2 separate regions of the Homo sapiens genome follow, and region 1 is linked to region 2. The links are contacts of gene promoters, found by promoter capture Hi-C in human tissues and cell types (Jung and others, 2019). All regions are on one chromosome and are shown on one strand. Each heading gives the region's core, a stretch centred on a gene start or on the middle of the fragment in contact. The rest is flanking DNA. Distances are from core to core; before and after follow the strand shown.

Evidence for each region. Contacts are between HindIII fragments. The study calls those that stand out against the background at their distance.
Region 1: a fragment that was not itself captured here is called in contact with the fragment with the promoter of SRSF9 in region 2 in 1 of the 25 tissues and cell types used here (dorsolateral prefrontal cortex).

What each region holds. Positions count from the first base shown.
Region 1 is chr12:120,293,462-120,300,658 of GRCh38, reverse strand. It overlaps a transcript of SIRT4 not described here. Among named protein-coding and RNA genes, the nearest start is that of RNU4-1, 3.8 kb to the right of the region's middle. RefSeq lists an enhancer at 6,778-7,197. The HindIII fragment of the contact is 8,404 bases long and covers 1-7,197 here.
Region 2 is chr12:120,465,013-120,471,546 of GRCh38, reverse strand. SRSF9 (serine and arginine rich splicing factor 9) reads left to right here and starts at 1,799. Exons shown (of 4, transcript NM_003769.3): 1 at 1,799-2,125; 2 at 5,760-5,920. The coding sequence starts at 1,938. It also overlaps a transcript of DYNLL1 not described here. RefSeq lists silencers at 1,841-2,140, 2,391-2,560. The HindIII fragment of the contact is 11,710 bases long and covers 1-6,534 here.

The sequences.
Region 1 (7,197 bases), core at 2,325-4,824, 170 kb after region 2:
TTGGGCAACATAGTGAGACCCACTCACTACAAAAAATAAACAAAATTAGCGGGGTGTGGTGGTGTGTGCCTGTAGTCCCAGCTACTCAAGAGGCTCAGGTGGGAGGATCACTTTGAGCCCAGGAGATCGAGGCTGCAGTGAGCCATAATTGTGCGACTGCACTTCAGCCTGGGTGACAAAGTGAGATCCCATCTCTTCAAAAAATAATAATAATAAATAAAGATGAACTGAAGTGCAGAGAAGTAATGTGGAAGCTTGAGAAAGAGTTTTTAGGTTTTTGGTTCTATCATTGTATCTTTGGAGGTAATATTGGCAAAATGACCATTTAGTAGTTTGCCCATTTCTGCTTTTTTTTTTTCTTTTTTTTGAGACAGGGTCTCGTTCTGTCACCCAGGCTGGAGTGCAGTTGTGACATCACAGCTCACTGCAGTTTCTACTTCCCAGGCCCAAGGGATCCTCCAACCTCATCCTCTCGAGTAGCTGAGATCACAGGCATCCACCACCACGCCCAGCTAAATTTTGTTATTTTTTATTTTTGTCGAGACACGGTCTCACTATGTTGCTCAGGCTGGTCTCAAACTCCTGAACTCAAGGAAAGCTCTTGCTTTGGCCTCCCAAAGTGCTGGGATTACAGGTGTGAGCCACCATGCCGGGCCTGCTTATTTCGACTTGGCAGCATCGTTTCATGAAGCCCCTGACTCTGTGACAACATACAGCTCTCCAGAAAGATGCTTTGAAGACAAAACAGAATAGAGCACACAGCCCTCCATGTCTCTTCCAAGTCACTATATTCATTAAAAGATAAATGACTCTGGTCATTGCCTTTTCCTGCACAAGATAATGTCTGATGGGGTTAGTGATGATACCTCTGTAATCCATAACCAGATATACTCTTGCACCCAAACTTTGATATGATTGTGCTTTAATGTAACTTTGAAGCAAGTTTAATGTGATTTTGCAGGCGCCGTACACTCACCACTTGTATATGAGTGGCTGAAATTCTGTGTTGGACCAGTCTGATGGAACTGCTCCCACACTATAGCCCTCGGTCTGTAATCCTCAGTAAGACTTGTAAGTAAAACTAACTTTAATTTTTTTTTTTTTTTTTTGAGAGAGTCTAGCTCTGTTGCCCAGGCTGGAGTGCAGTGGCGCGATCTTCACTCACTGAAGCCTCTGCCTTCCCGGCTGAAGTGATTCTGCTGCCTCGGCCTCCGGAGTAGCTAGGATTACAGGCGCTCGCCACTGCGCCCGGCTAATTTTTGTATTTTTAGTAGAGATGGGGTTTCGTCATGTTGGCCAGGCTGGTTTTGAACTCGTGACCTCAGGTGACCCACCTGCCTCAGTCTCCTAAAATGCTAGGATTACAGGAGTGAGCCACTGCACCCCGCCACTTTTATTATTATTATTATTGTATTTATTTATTTATTTATTTATTTTTGAGACGGAGTCTCGCTCTGTCGCCCAGGCTGGAGTGTAGTGGAGAGATCTCGGCCCACTACAAGCTCCGCCTCCCGGGTTCACGCGATTCTCCTGCCTCAGCCTCCGGACTACAGGCGCCCGCCACCACACCCGGCTAATTTTTTGTATTTTTTTTTTAGTAGAGACGGGGTTTCACCGTGTTAGCCAGGATGGTCTCTATCTCTTGACCTCGTGATCCGCCCGCCTCAGCCTCCCAAAGTACTGGGATTACAGGCGTGAGCCACCGCGCCCGGCTATTTATTTATTTATTTATTTATTTATTTATTTATTTTTTGAGACGGAATATTGCTCTGTGCCCAGGCTGGAGTGCAGTGGCACGATCTCAGATCACTGCAACCTCCGCCTCCCGGGTTCAAGTGATTCTCCTGCCTCAGCCTCCCGAGTAGCTGGGATTACGGGTGCCCGCCACCATGCCCGGCTAATTTTTGTATTTTTAGTAGAGACGGGGTTTCACCATGCTTGTCAGCATGGTCTCGAACTCCTGACCTCGCGATCCGCCCGCCTCAGCCTCCCAAAGTGCTGGAATTACAGGCATGAGCCACTGCGCCCTGCCACTTTAATTATTTAAAAGCTTATTTTTTTATTTTGGGGACATGGTCTCACTCTTTCACCCAGGCGGGAGTTCAGAGGCACGATCACTGCGCACTACAGCCTCAACCTCTTGGACTCAAACCATCCTCCCACCTCAGCCTCCTGAGTAGCTGGGACTACAGGTGGGCCACCAAGCCCAGCTAATTTTTGTATTTTTTTGTAGAGACGGGGTTTCACCATGTTGCCCAGGCTGGTCTCGAACTCCTGGGCTCTAGGCTTTCCAAAGTGTTGTGATTACGGGCGTGAGCTACTGCGCCTGGCCGATTCTTTTTAACTTAGTACACAGGGAGTAGTAGCTCCAGCAACAGCGAAAGTCAGTAGCTGTAGGATCTACTAGGCGGGGAAACTCATATGACAGCCCCCTCCTTTTTTTTTTTTTTTTTTTTTTTTTTGAGATGGAGTTTCACTCTTGTTGACCAGGCTGGAGTGCAATGGCGCCATCTTGGCTCACCGCAACCTCCGCCTCCCGGGTTCAAGTGATTCTCCTGCCTCAGCCTCCCCAGTATCTGGGATTACAGGTGTGAGCCACTGCGCCCGGCCACCCCCTTTTTTTTTCAAGGCTGCAGTGAGCCATGATCCTGTGACTGCACTCCAGCCACTGACAGCCCTTTCTGCATTAGTTAACCTGACCACATCTGCTGAAAGAAAGCACCAGAAGCTAGACTGAAATTTTCGTTGTCAAAAAAATTATAATCCCCCCCAAAATTTAAAAATTATAATCCAGCACATTTTCTGCACACATTTTCTGGGTATTTGATCATAACTTTTAAAAATGTGAGAACAGTGACATTCTCCTTCCCCATTCACCAATTTTACTATGAAAAAGTTCAAACCTAGGTTATTTTTTCAGTTCTCCAAGTGGAATGATCATCACTAATAGAGATTGGTTGGGAATTCTATTGTGCTTCTAGGCCCCCAAAAATCTCATGCTCTGAGGAAAAGTTAGCTGAGTTTTCAATTTTTCTCATAGTGCTGGAAAATCATCCCTGGACGGTGAAGTCATCCAAGTCTTTTTTGTTTTGTTTTGTTTTTTCTTTCTTTCTTTCTTTCTTTTTTAATTTTTGTATGCTTTGTTTCTATTTCTTTTTTTTTTTGTCATCCAAGTCAGCTGGTGAAACACACAATTTCACTTGATAGCTACTGAGAGAGTGTAATGGGCCACCCATTCTAGAATTCTCAAGGGCTAGGAAGTTCCTTTGATACCCTCATGGGATTAGGATTAGGGCTTTAGTCTTTTTCTCTCTCTCTTTTTTTTTTTTTTTTTTTTTTTTTGATTACAGGCGTGAGCCACCACACCAAGCCCCATTATTTATTTATTTTATTTTATGTATGTATGTATGTATGTATGTATGTATTTATTTATTTTGAGACGGAGTCTCGCTCTATCGCCCAGGCTGGAGTGCAGTGGCGCAATCTAGGCTCACTGCAACCTCCGCCTACCGGGTTCAAGTGATTCTCCTATGTCAGCCTCCCAAGTAGCTGGGATTATAGGCGCCCGCCACCATGCCCAGCTAATTTTTGTATTTTTAGTAGAGACGAGGTTTCACCATCTTGGCCAGGCTGGTCTTGAACTCCTGACCTTGTGATCCACCCGCCTCGGCCTCCCAAAGTGCTGGGATTACAGGCGTGAGCCACCGTGCCTGGCCTAGTGTTTTTCTCACAACTCCACCCCATCCAGAATTAATGACTAAATCCTTGACTGGATGATCAAAGTAAAAGAATCTAAATTCACCACATTGCTAGTCTTTTCTTTTTATCCAGGCTGTGAATTAAATAAGAAATCTGCTGCAGTGGCTCATGCCTGTAATCCCTCCCCTTGGGGAGGCCGAGGCGGGCGGATCACTTGAGCCCAGGAGCTGGAGACCAGCATGGGCAACATGGTGAAACCCTGTATCTACAAAAAATACAGAAAAATTAGCTGGGCATGGTGGTGTGTGCCTGTAGTCCCAGCTACCTGGGAGGCTGAGGTGGGAAGATCGCTTGAGCCCAGGAGATTTAGGCTGCACTGAGCCGTGATTGCACCCCTGCGCTCCAACCTAAGCGACTGAGAACATGTCTCAAAAAAAAAAAAACAAAAAAAAAAACACAAAACAAGTTAGAAATAATCACATAACACATCAGCATCAAACAGGCCTTTTAAAATGTCGTTTTTGACCATCCTGGCTAACACGGTGAAACCCCATCTCTACTAAAAATAGAAAAAATTAGCCGGCCGTGGTGGCGGGCGCCTGTAGTCCCAGCTACTCGGGAGGCTGAGGCAGGAGAATGGCGTGAACCCGGAAGGCGGAGCTCGCAGTGAGCCGAGATTGCGCCACTGCACTCCAGCCTGGGCGACAGAGCGAGACTCCGTCTCAAAAAAAAAAAATGTCATTTTTGTATATGGATGATGAGTACATGAATGTTCACTGAGGAATTCTTTGAACTTTTCGTGTTTACAATTTTTTATGATAAAATGTTGGGGGAAATGTTACTTTCTTTTTTTTTTTTTTTTTTTTTTTTTTTGAGACGGAGTCTCGCTTTGTCACCCAGGCTGGATTACAGTGGCATGATCTCAGCTCATGGCAACCTCTACCTCCCAGGTTCAAGCGATCCTCCTGCCTCAGCCCCCCTAGTAGCTGGGATTACAGGCAAGCGCCACCACGCCCCGTTAATTTTTGTATTTTGTATTTTTGTAATTTTGTATTTTTGTATTTTGTATTTACAGGGATGTCGCCATGTTACCAGGCTGATCTTGAACTCCTGACCTCAGGTGATCCACCTGCCTTGGCCTCCCAAAGCGTTGGGATTACACGCTCGAGCCACCACACCTAGACCAGATGTAGGTTTCTAATAGCTTTCTACATCCTGAAGGAAAACAGGCAGTGAGGGTGAAAGTTGCTTCAAATTTTAGAAACTGTGAACATTCTGTGGAAATAAATCCTTATTATTTGAGCCTCTTTTTGAATTAAGGTGTCCAAACCCTTTTGAATTAACATATGATCCAGCAATTTTACTTCTAGGTATGTACACCAAAGAATAGAAAACAGGGGCCAGGCGCGGTGGCTCACACCTGTAATCCCAGCACTTTGGGAGGCCGAGGCAGGCAGATCACTTGAGGTCAGGAGTTCAAGACCAGCCTGACCAACATGGAGAAACCCCGTCTCTACTAAAAAAAAAAAAAAAAAAAAAATTATCTATATATATATTTATACATATATATATATAAAATTAGCCAGGCATGGTGGCGCATACCTGTCATCCCAGCTACTTGGGAGGCTGAGGCAGGAGAATCACCTGAACCCAGGAGGCAGAGGTTGTGGTGAGCTGAGATTGCGCCTTTGCAGTCCAGACTGCGCAACAAGAGCGAAACTCAGTCTCAAAAAAAAAAAAAAGGAAAACAGAAACTTAAGCTGATATTTGCACACCAATAGCAGCATTATTCCCATAGACAAAAGGTGGAAACCAGCAATGACCATCTAAAAATAAATGGATAGGCCGGGCGCCGTGGCTCAGCACTTTGGGAGGCTGAGGCAGGAGGATCACTTGAGGTCAGGAGCTTGAGACCAGCCTGGCCAACATGGTGAAACCCTGTCTCTACTAAAAATACAAAAATTAGCCAGGATTGGTGGCACGCACCTGTAATCCCAGTTAGTTACTCGGGAGGCTGAGACAGGAGAACTGCTTGAACCCCAGAGGCGGAGGTTGCATGGGCTGAGATTGAGTCTATGTACTCCAGCTTGGGCAACAGAGCGAGACTCCCCCTCAAAAAAAAAAAAAAAAAGGATAAACAGTTGGTCCGGGCGGCAGCTCATGCCTATAGTCCCAGCACTTTGGGAGGCCAAGATGGGAGGATCACTTGGGCCCAGGAGTTCGAGACCAGCCTGGGCAACATGGTGAGATCCTGTCTGTACGAAAAATACAGAAAGTATCCAGCTGAAGTGGGAGGAGGATCACTTGAGGCCTGGAAGCAGAGGTTGAAGTGAGCTGAGATCGCGCCACTGCATTCCAGCCTGGGCGACAGAGCCAAAAGCTGTCTCAAAAAAGAATGAATGGGACCGGGCGCGGTGGCTCACGGCTGTAATCCCAGCACTTTGGGAAACCAAGGCGGGTGGATCACCTGAGGCCAGGAGTTCAAGACCAGCCTGACCAACATGGTGAAACCCCGTGTCTACTAAAAATAATCCCAGCTCCTCGGGAGGCTGAGGCAGGAGAATCGCTTGAACCTGGGAGGCGGAGGTTGATCTCGCCATTGCGCTCCAGCCTGGGCAACAAAAGCAAAACTTCGTCTCAAAAAAAAAAATAGACAAGAATAAATGGGCTGGGTGAAGTGGCTCACACCTGTAATTCCAGCACTTTGGGAGGCCGAGGCAGGCAGATCACGTGAGGTCAGGAGTTTGAGACCAGCCTGGCCAACATGGTGAAATCCTGTCTCTACTAAAAATACAAAGAGTGGTGGCATGCATCTGTAATCCCAGCTACTTGAGAGATGGAGGCAGGAGAATCGCTTGAATCCGGGAGGCAGTGGTTGCAATGAGCCGAGATCATGCCACTGCACTCCAGCCTGGGCAACAAGAGCAAAAACTCCATCTCAAAAAAAAAAAAAGATAACATCTCATACAGTGAAATATTATTCAGCCATAAAATTAATGAATTCCTGATATATACTACAACATGGATGAACCTTAAAAACATTATTCTGAATGAAATAAGACTGACCTCAAGGACAAATATTGTATGATTCCATTTATATATATATAAAGTACTCACAAAGTCATAGAGATAGAAAGTAGAAAAGAGGTTGCCACGGGGGCTGGAGGAGAAGGGAACAGGGAGTAAGGGTTTAATGGGTACAGAGTCTCAGTTTCCACCCTTGGGCATGAAAGATAAAGTTCTGGAGGTAAGTAGTGATGATGGTTACACAACAATGTGAACATATTCTATGCCAGTGAATTTACACTTAAGGTTAAAATGGTAAATTTTATGTATACTTTGGCATAATTTAAAAAAAAGTTTGAAAAAGAAAAAAGACAAAACAATAATCGTCTTTGGAGAAGTCTGTTACACTGAATCTGGAGCCAAGTGAACAGAACCCTGATTTTGATCCCTTTTCTCTCAAAAGCCCTTCGCAGTCTCTGAATTAAGTCTATT
Region 2 (6,534 bases), core at 550-3,049:
TCAACTTGTATTCCAAAAAAGATATACACTCAGTAGTATATGTGGGTGTCTAGTCTTTGGTTTGTTTTGATTTTAAAATGCTCAGATGGTATAATGAGAAATCAACTACCTTCTGATTAAATGTGTGGTTTTAGTCCCTTTTTTTGTTTGTTTTTGTTTTGTCTTGTTTTTGAGACAGAGTCTCCCTCTGTCACCCAGGCTGGAGGAGTGCAGTGGCACAATCTCGGCTCACTGCAACCTCTGCCTCCCAGATTCAAGCGATTCTCGTGCCTCATCCTCCCAAGCAGCTGGGACTACAGGCGTGCCACCAAGCTTGGCTAATTTTTTTTTTTTTTTGTATTTTTAGTAGGGGGGCGGGTCTTGCCATGTTGGCCAGGCTGGTCTTGAACTCCTGGCCTCAAGTGATCCACCCACCTCAGCCTCCTAAAGTGCTGGGATTACAGGCATGAGCCACCACGCCCAGCCAGGTTTCATTTTTAATATGAAAAATCTTTATTTATTTTTGAGACAGTCTCACTCTGTCACCCAGGCTGAAGTGCAGTGGCATGATCTCGGCTCACTGCAACCTTCGCCTCCCGGGCTCAAGCAATTCTCCTGCCTCAGCCTCCCGCGTAACTGGGATTATAGGAACACGCCACCACGCCCAGCTAATTTTTGTATTTTTAGTAGAAACGGGGTTTCCCCATGTTGCCCAGGCTAGTCTCGAACTACTGACCTCAAGTGATCCTCCCGCCTTGGCCTCTCAAAGTGTTGGGATTACAGGCGTGAGCCACCGCACCCAGCCTGAACAATCTTTAGGTTAGGAGTATTCCAGCCGGGCGCCGGGCTCAAGCCGGTAATCCAACACTTTGGGAGGCCAAGGCTGGAGGATCGGTTGAGCCCAGGAGTTCGAGACCAGCCTCTCTACAAAAAAAATAGAAAATAAACTAGCTGGACGCAGCGCAGACCCCTCACGGCGCCCCGAGGTGGGAGGATCACCTGAGTCCAGCGAGATCGAGACTGCAGTGAGCCGTGTTCGCGCCATTGCACTCCAGCCTGAGCAACAGAATAAGACCCTGTATCAAAAACAAACAAAAAGTCTTCTGGTGCAAGGCCTCACTGTAAGGTCCCTGGGTTCAATGCTCCGCGTTCTGGGATGTGAATGTGGAAAAGTAAGTGCCAAGGTGGGTGTCTACCTGAGCTCCATAAGGACTCAGTACTTAGGATGGGAGCATGGCTCTGGGTTCCATTCCTGACCCCTCTGTGGCCTCAGACTCTGCCCGGGAGAGGATGAAAAGCACAAGTCGGATGCACTCTATAGTGATCGCTGTGATACTCATTAAGAGTCTTACTCCCTCGACTCCGACAAACTCAAGGCCAAGCTATGGAGTCCATCTCATGCTGACACCGTCAGTTCTGAGCAACTGTAAAATGGGGACAGGGTGGCCCGGGGGCCTACTGACCTGAGGTGGGGGCCGCGACAGCCCGGCCGCTGCGGGGTCAGCCTGCGGTCTCCGCCTGACTCCAGCTCTCCTGCGCCCCGCAGGCCCTGGGCGCTACCCACGTCAGTGAGTGCTCACAAGTCTGTGAGGTAGGCGGCGCCACAGAGAGAAACTGAGGCGCGGGAGCCCAAGCCACTTGTCCAGCGCCTCAGCCGAGCGCGAACCGCGCTCGGGGATGGCATCCACACGGCCCGGCCCCAGGCTCTCCCTGTCAGCGCCCGAAGGCCCTTCGCACCTCCAGGGGGCGCCGGCCTGCGCGCACGCGCAATGGTCGCAGCCGCGTTCTCTTTAAGAGGACTCCTTTTGCCTCCGCCGACCCCTTCGCTTCCGCTCCGCGTTCCCACAATGCAGTGCGGCTGAGCGCCTCGGAGCCCGCGGGGACGCTGCGGGGGGACCCGTGCTGAGGCGGCGGCGGCGACGTGGGCTGCGGCGGGCCCGCGGCGTCGGGCGGTGCGGATGTCGGGCTGGGCGGACGAGCGCGGCGGCGAGGGCGACGGGCGCATCTACGTGGGGAACCTTCCGACCGACGTGCGCGAGAAGGACTTGGAGGACCTGTTCTACAAGTACGGCCGCATCCGCGAGATCGAGCTCAAGAACCGGCACGGCCTCGTGCCCTTCGCCTTCGTGCGCTTCGAGGACCCCCGGTGAGGCCCCCGCGCCCCTGCCCTCTCCTCCTCGGTGCCTGAGGCCCCCGCCTTCCCTGCTGTCCCCTCCCCCAGGGCTCCCCTCCCCCCGGCCTCCCCTCCCCCCGCCTCCGCGCAGACCCCTCACGGCGCCCCCTCACGGGTGGAGGATGAGGCAGCCTCTCCTCGCAGGCCCGGGCCGTCCTTCGCGCCGTCGTCACTTCCTTTATTTTTATTATTCCAATATTTTACTTAGAAACCCAAAAGCTGAGCCTTTGGAGGGCCCAAGCCCGCCTGCACCGGCCTCGGGGGGTCCAAATGAGCCTTGTCCGCCTCCTGCCTGGGGCAGCACCGTAGGGGGAAGCGGCCGCGGGGCAGCGCGGGGGTCGCCGTTCGCCCTTCCCGCTCGCCTCTCCCCCGGCCCGTGCTCGCCGTGGCTGGAGAGCAAGCTGCAGGGTCGCGGATGCCGCTGGAGGTCGTGGAGGGATCTCTGGTGGAATAGCTCGCCGTTCGCGCGCCCCGCCCCGCAGGCCAGGGCCCGGGCTTTGTAAAGGGATCACGGATTCGGGAAAACTTCTAAAACAGCCGGAGTGGGGCTCTGATTTCACTTCCCTCCTTTGATGAGGGAGGCTTGGCGAGATGCTAAAGGTTCCAGGGATTTGGAAACTCTAGATTCCTAACCCCGCTCTAAGGAGTGCTTGTGATTTTGCAAACAGCGTCGGCCCTCAGGCCGGAAAAAGCCCAGGAACTTTCAAAACTGTGGTTGGTGGTGGTTAGCAGCTGCGGCGCTGACCTGGTCACTCCACTCCGGCCAAATAAGAGCCCGCACCCTGTTTTCCTAGCATCATTTGCTCCCGGGGAACGCGGAATGTTCGTAGGGTGTCCGACCTACCTGGGGTGGACGTATTGATAGGGCAAGGGGAGCATCTGAGGAAGGGCAGGCAGGAAGCACCGCGAGGCGTTGATGGCTGAAGAGTCGACTCTGACAGCTCATCCCTAGTATCTCCTCATTTGCCTCAAAACCGGAACTGGGCATTTTTACCCCTAAGCCGGAGAAGGCTATGCCTCGCTTATTTAGTAACCGTGCCATTGTGGTTTTTCAACAGTTGCTATGGGTCAAGTGCCATGGTGTGTATTTAGCTTTTTTTCTTTCCTTCTTATTTTTTTAGATTGATAAATTAGGGGTTTCACCATGTTGCTCAGGCTGGTCTGGAACTCCTGAGCTCAGGTGATTCTCCCGTCTCAGCGGATCAAATTGTTAGGATTACAGGCGTGAGCAACCCGCCCAGCCTGTATTTAGTATTTTTAACAATTTATGAGGTGTAGGTACTATTTTTTTTTTTTTTTTGAGACAGGTCTTCACTCTTGTTGCCCAGGCTGGAGTGCTGTGGTGCGATCCCGGCCCACCGCAACCTCCGCCACCTGAGTTCAAGCGATTCTCCCGCTTCAGCTTCCCAGTAGCTGGGATTACAGGCGCCCGCCATCATGCCTGGCTGATTTTTCTATGTTCAGCAGATACGGGGTTTCTCCATGTTGGCCAGGTTTGTCTTGAACTCCTAACCTCAAGTGATCCACCCACCTCAGCCTCCCAAAATGCTGAGGTTACAGGCCTGAGCCACCACGCCAGGCCGGGATCAATGGATTTGAACTCCCTCTTCTGTTTTTCGAATGCAAACTTACTATATGATACGCTACATTGTCATCTTCCCTCATTCCTTTCATAATAGAAAAACTATCTTTTGGTGTCACTAGATGTGAAGATTCAAGCAAAGCATTTCATGTAGTATCTTATTTAACCATTACAATAACCCTGTGAGATAGGCATACTGTTCACATTAGAGATGTAAAAACTTGATTAAACACTTACCCAGAGATGACTACTAGTAATTTGCAGAATAGTGATTTGAATGCAGGCTAATTTTATTTATTTATTGTATTTATTGAGATGGAGTCTGGCTCTGTCGTGCAGGCTGGAGTGTAGCGGCACAGTCTCAGCTCACTGCAACCTTCGCCTCCTGGGTTCAAGAGATTCTCGTGCCTCAGCCTCCTGAGTAGCTGGGATTACAGCTGCGCGATGCCATGCCCAGCTAATTTTTATCTTTTTAGTAGAGACGAGGGGTTTCACCAGGTTGCCCAGACTGGTCTCAAGCTGCTAACCTCAAGTGATCCACCTCCCAAAGTGCTGGGATTACAGGCATGTGCCACAGCGCCTGGCCTGAATGCTGGCCAGTTTTTATTCAGAGTTGTTCTGACCTCCTAGCAGTTCTGCCTCTCCCAGTCTGCATTTTACGTAGTCAAGGTTGCACTGGATATGGTCATTGTTGCTTTTAGTTCTAAAATCTTACAAGTGATTATGTGCCTGTGACACTGAACAATGCCTTCATTAGCACATTCAGCTCCTCTTGTCCACCCAAGCTCCAAGGTCACACTTTCTACCATCCAATACTGGAGAATCAACGTGGCATTCCTGACTCTCCTAGAGTCCTAGGAAAGACTTAAAGTAATTTTATTGAATATTTATCTCTTTTGGCAAAATTGTATCCAAAGAATGTTTTTTGACAAAAATAGTTCTCCAAACCATGCTGAAAAGGTACACTTAGAGTTCCAAGGCCAGGCGCAGTGGCTTATGCCTGTAATCCTAGCACTTTGGGAGACTGAGGGGAAGGATCGCCTGAGCCCAGGAGTTCAAGACCAGGCTGGCCAGCAGAGGGAGACCTGTCTCTACAAAAAATCCAAAAATTAGCTGGGTGCAGTGGTACACGCCTGTGGCCCTAGCTATTCAGGAGGCTGAGGTGGGAGGATTGCTTGCGCCCAAGAGTTAGAAGCTGCTGTGAGTTATGCTCCAGCCACTGCACTCAGCCTTGGTGACAGAGCAAGACCCCGTTTCAAAAAAAAAAAAAGTTCCACATTCATCACAAAACACTCATTTGCATTTTTCTTTTGTCCTTTGAGCCTTATTTATTTATTTTTTTAAAAGACCGGGTCTCACTATATTACCCAGGCTGGCCTGACCTGGGCTCAAACATCATGCCCAGCTACTTTATTTACCCTCAAATACTCTCCTATCTAACTGGCTACTTTTTTTTTCCTGTTTTTTGGGACAGGGTCTCTGTCACCCAGGCTGGAGTACAGTAGTGTGATCTTGGCTCTGCACTCCCATCTCAGCCTCTCAAGTAGCTGGGACTACAGGCGTGCAACACCATGCCTGGCTAACCGCCTACTTTTTATTTCCATAGACTTTATGGCACTAGGCTTTGTAGAAAAATATTAAGGGGTTAGTGTGTGGTGTGCTTTTCGAGAAAATGCTCACGAAGATTAGAAAAACACTGATGGTTTATTGGCAAAATCAATAATCTGTCAGCAGTTGATTCTTTTTTTTCTCTGAATTAGCCCTCTTATGAGTAATCTGTTTGCTCATTCATTATAATTTCATACCTCTAAAACTGCGTGTGACAGCTGTAAAGGTTAATTCCAGTATCATGAAACGTCTCCAAACCAAAGCAGAAGTGCTTCAGGATCCTGATTTGTGTGTTTTTTTCTTCACTCTAGGTTTCCCTTTTATGCTTACTACTCATGCCCCTCACTTGGAAAGTCACTTGGCCTCCTGAACAGCACTAACTCCAAACGTTTTTTTTGTTGTTGTTGTTTTTTTTAGAGATGCAGAGGATGCTATTTATGGAAGAAATGGTTATGATTATGGCCAGTGTCGGCTTCGTGTGGAGTTCCCCAGGACTTATGGAGGTCGGGGTGGGTGGCCCCGTGGTGGGAGGAATGGGCCTCCTACAAGAAGATCTGATTTCCGAGTTCTTGTTTCAGGTATGTTCCTTTCAAACAGAATGAGATGATACATGTAAAATACTTAACACAGAGTCTGTCTTCCAAGAAATGATAGCTGTTATTCTTCAGTGCATGGGACACGGGGGCTTTCTTTTCAATAGCCTGTGTGAAGCCTTGCCCTGGATTGCCAATGAGGAAAGTATCCTGCAAATGAAATTGCGCTGGGAGTGCAGCCTTGGAAGAACATAACCATATTTCTTGTAAAGGAGTTTTCTAGTGGTGAGAAGGAAAGATGATGGGAAAACTTGAGCTACAATTCTAAAGATGCTTCTTTTGGAATATACTTGGCATCAGACATGGTAGAAAGGCATTCAAGGAGCCAGATTTGAACAACTTACCCAGCCTTGGATCCTGAAGAAGATCAGATTTTGTGGTGGTTTTAGAATTAAATATTTTTTAAAACCCCGTAACTTAAGAGTCTTAGAGATTTTATTGGAAAGTATAGACTATTTCTGTCTAGTGTTTATAAGTGATGAAATGCTAAACTGGGAGGTTTATCTATCTTCAAAATATTAACACACTGGAAAGACCTGGGGCCTTCTGCATATTGCATGGGAGTTTTAGGGCCCTGGTGGAATGAAATAAATCGAGGA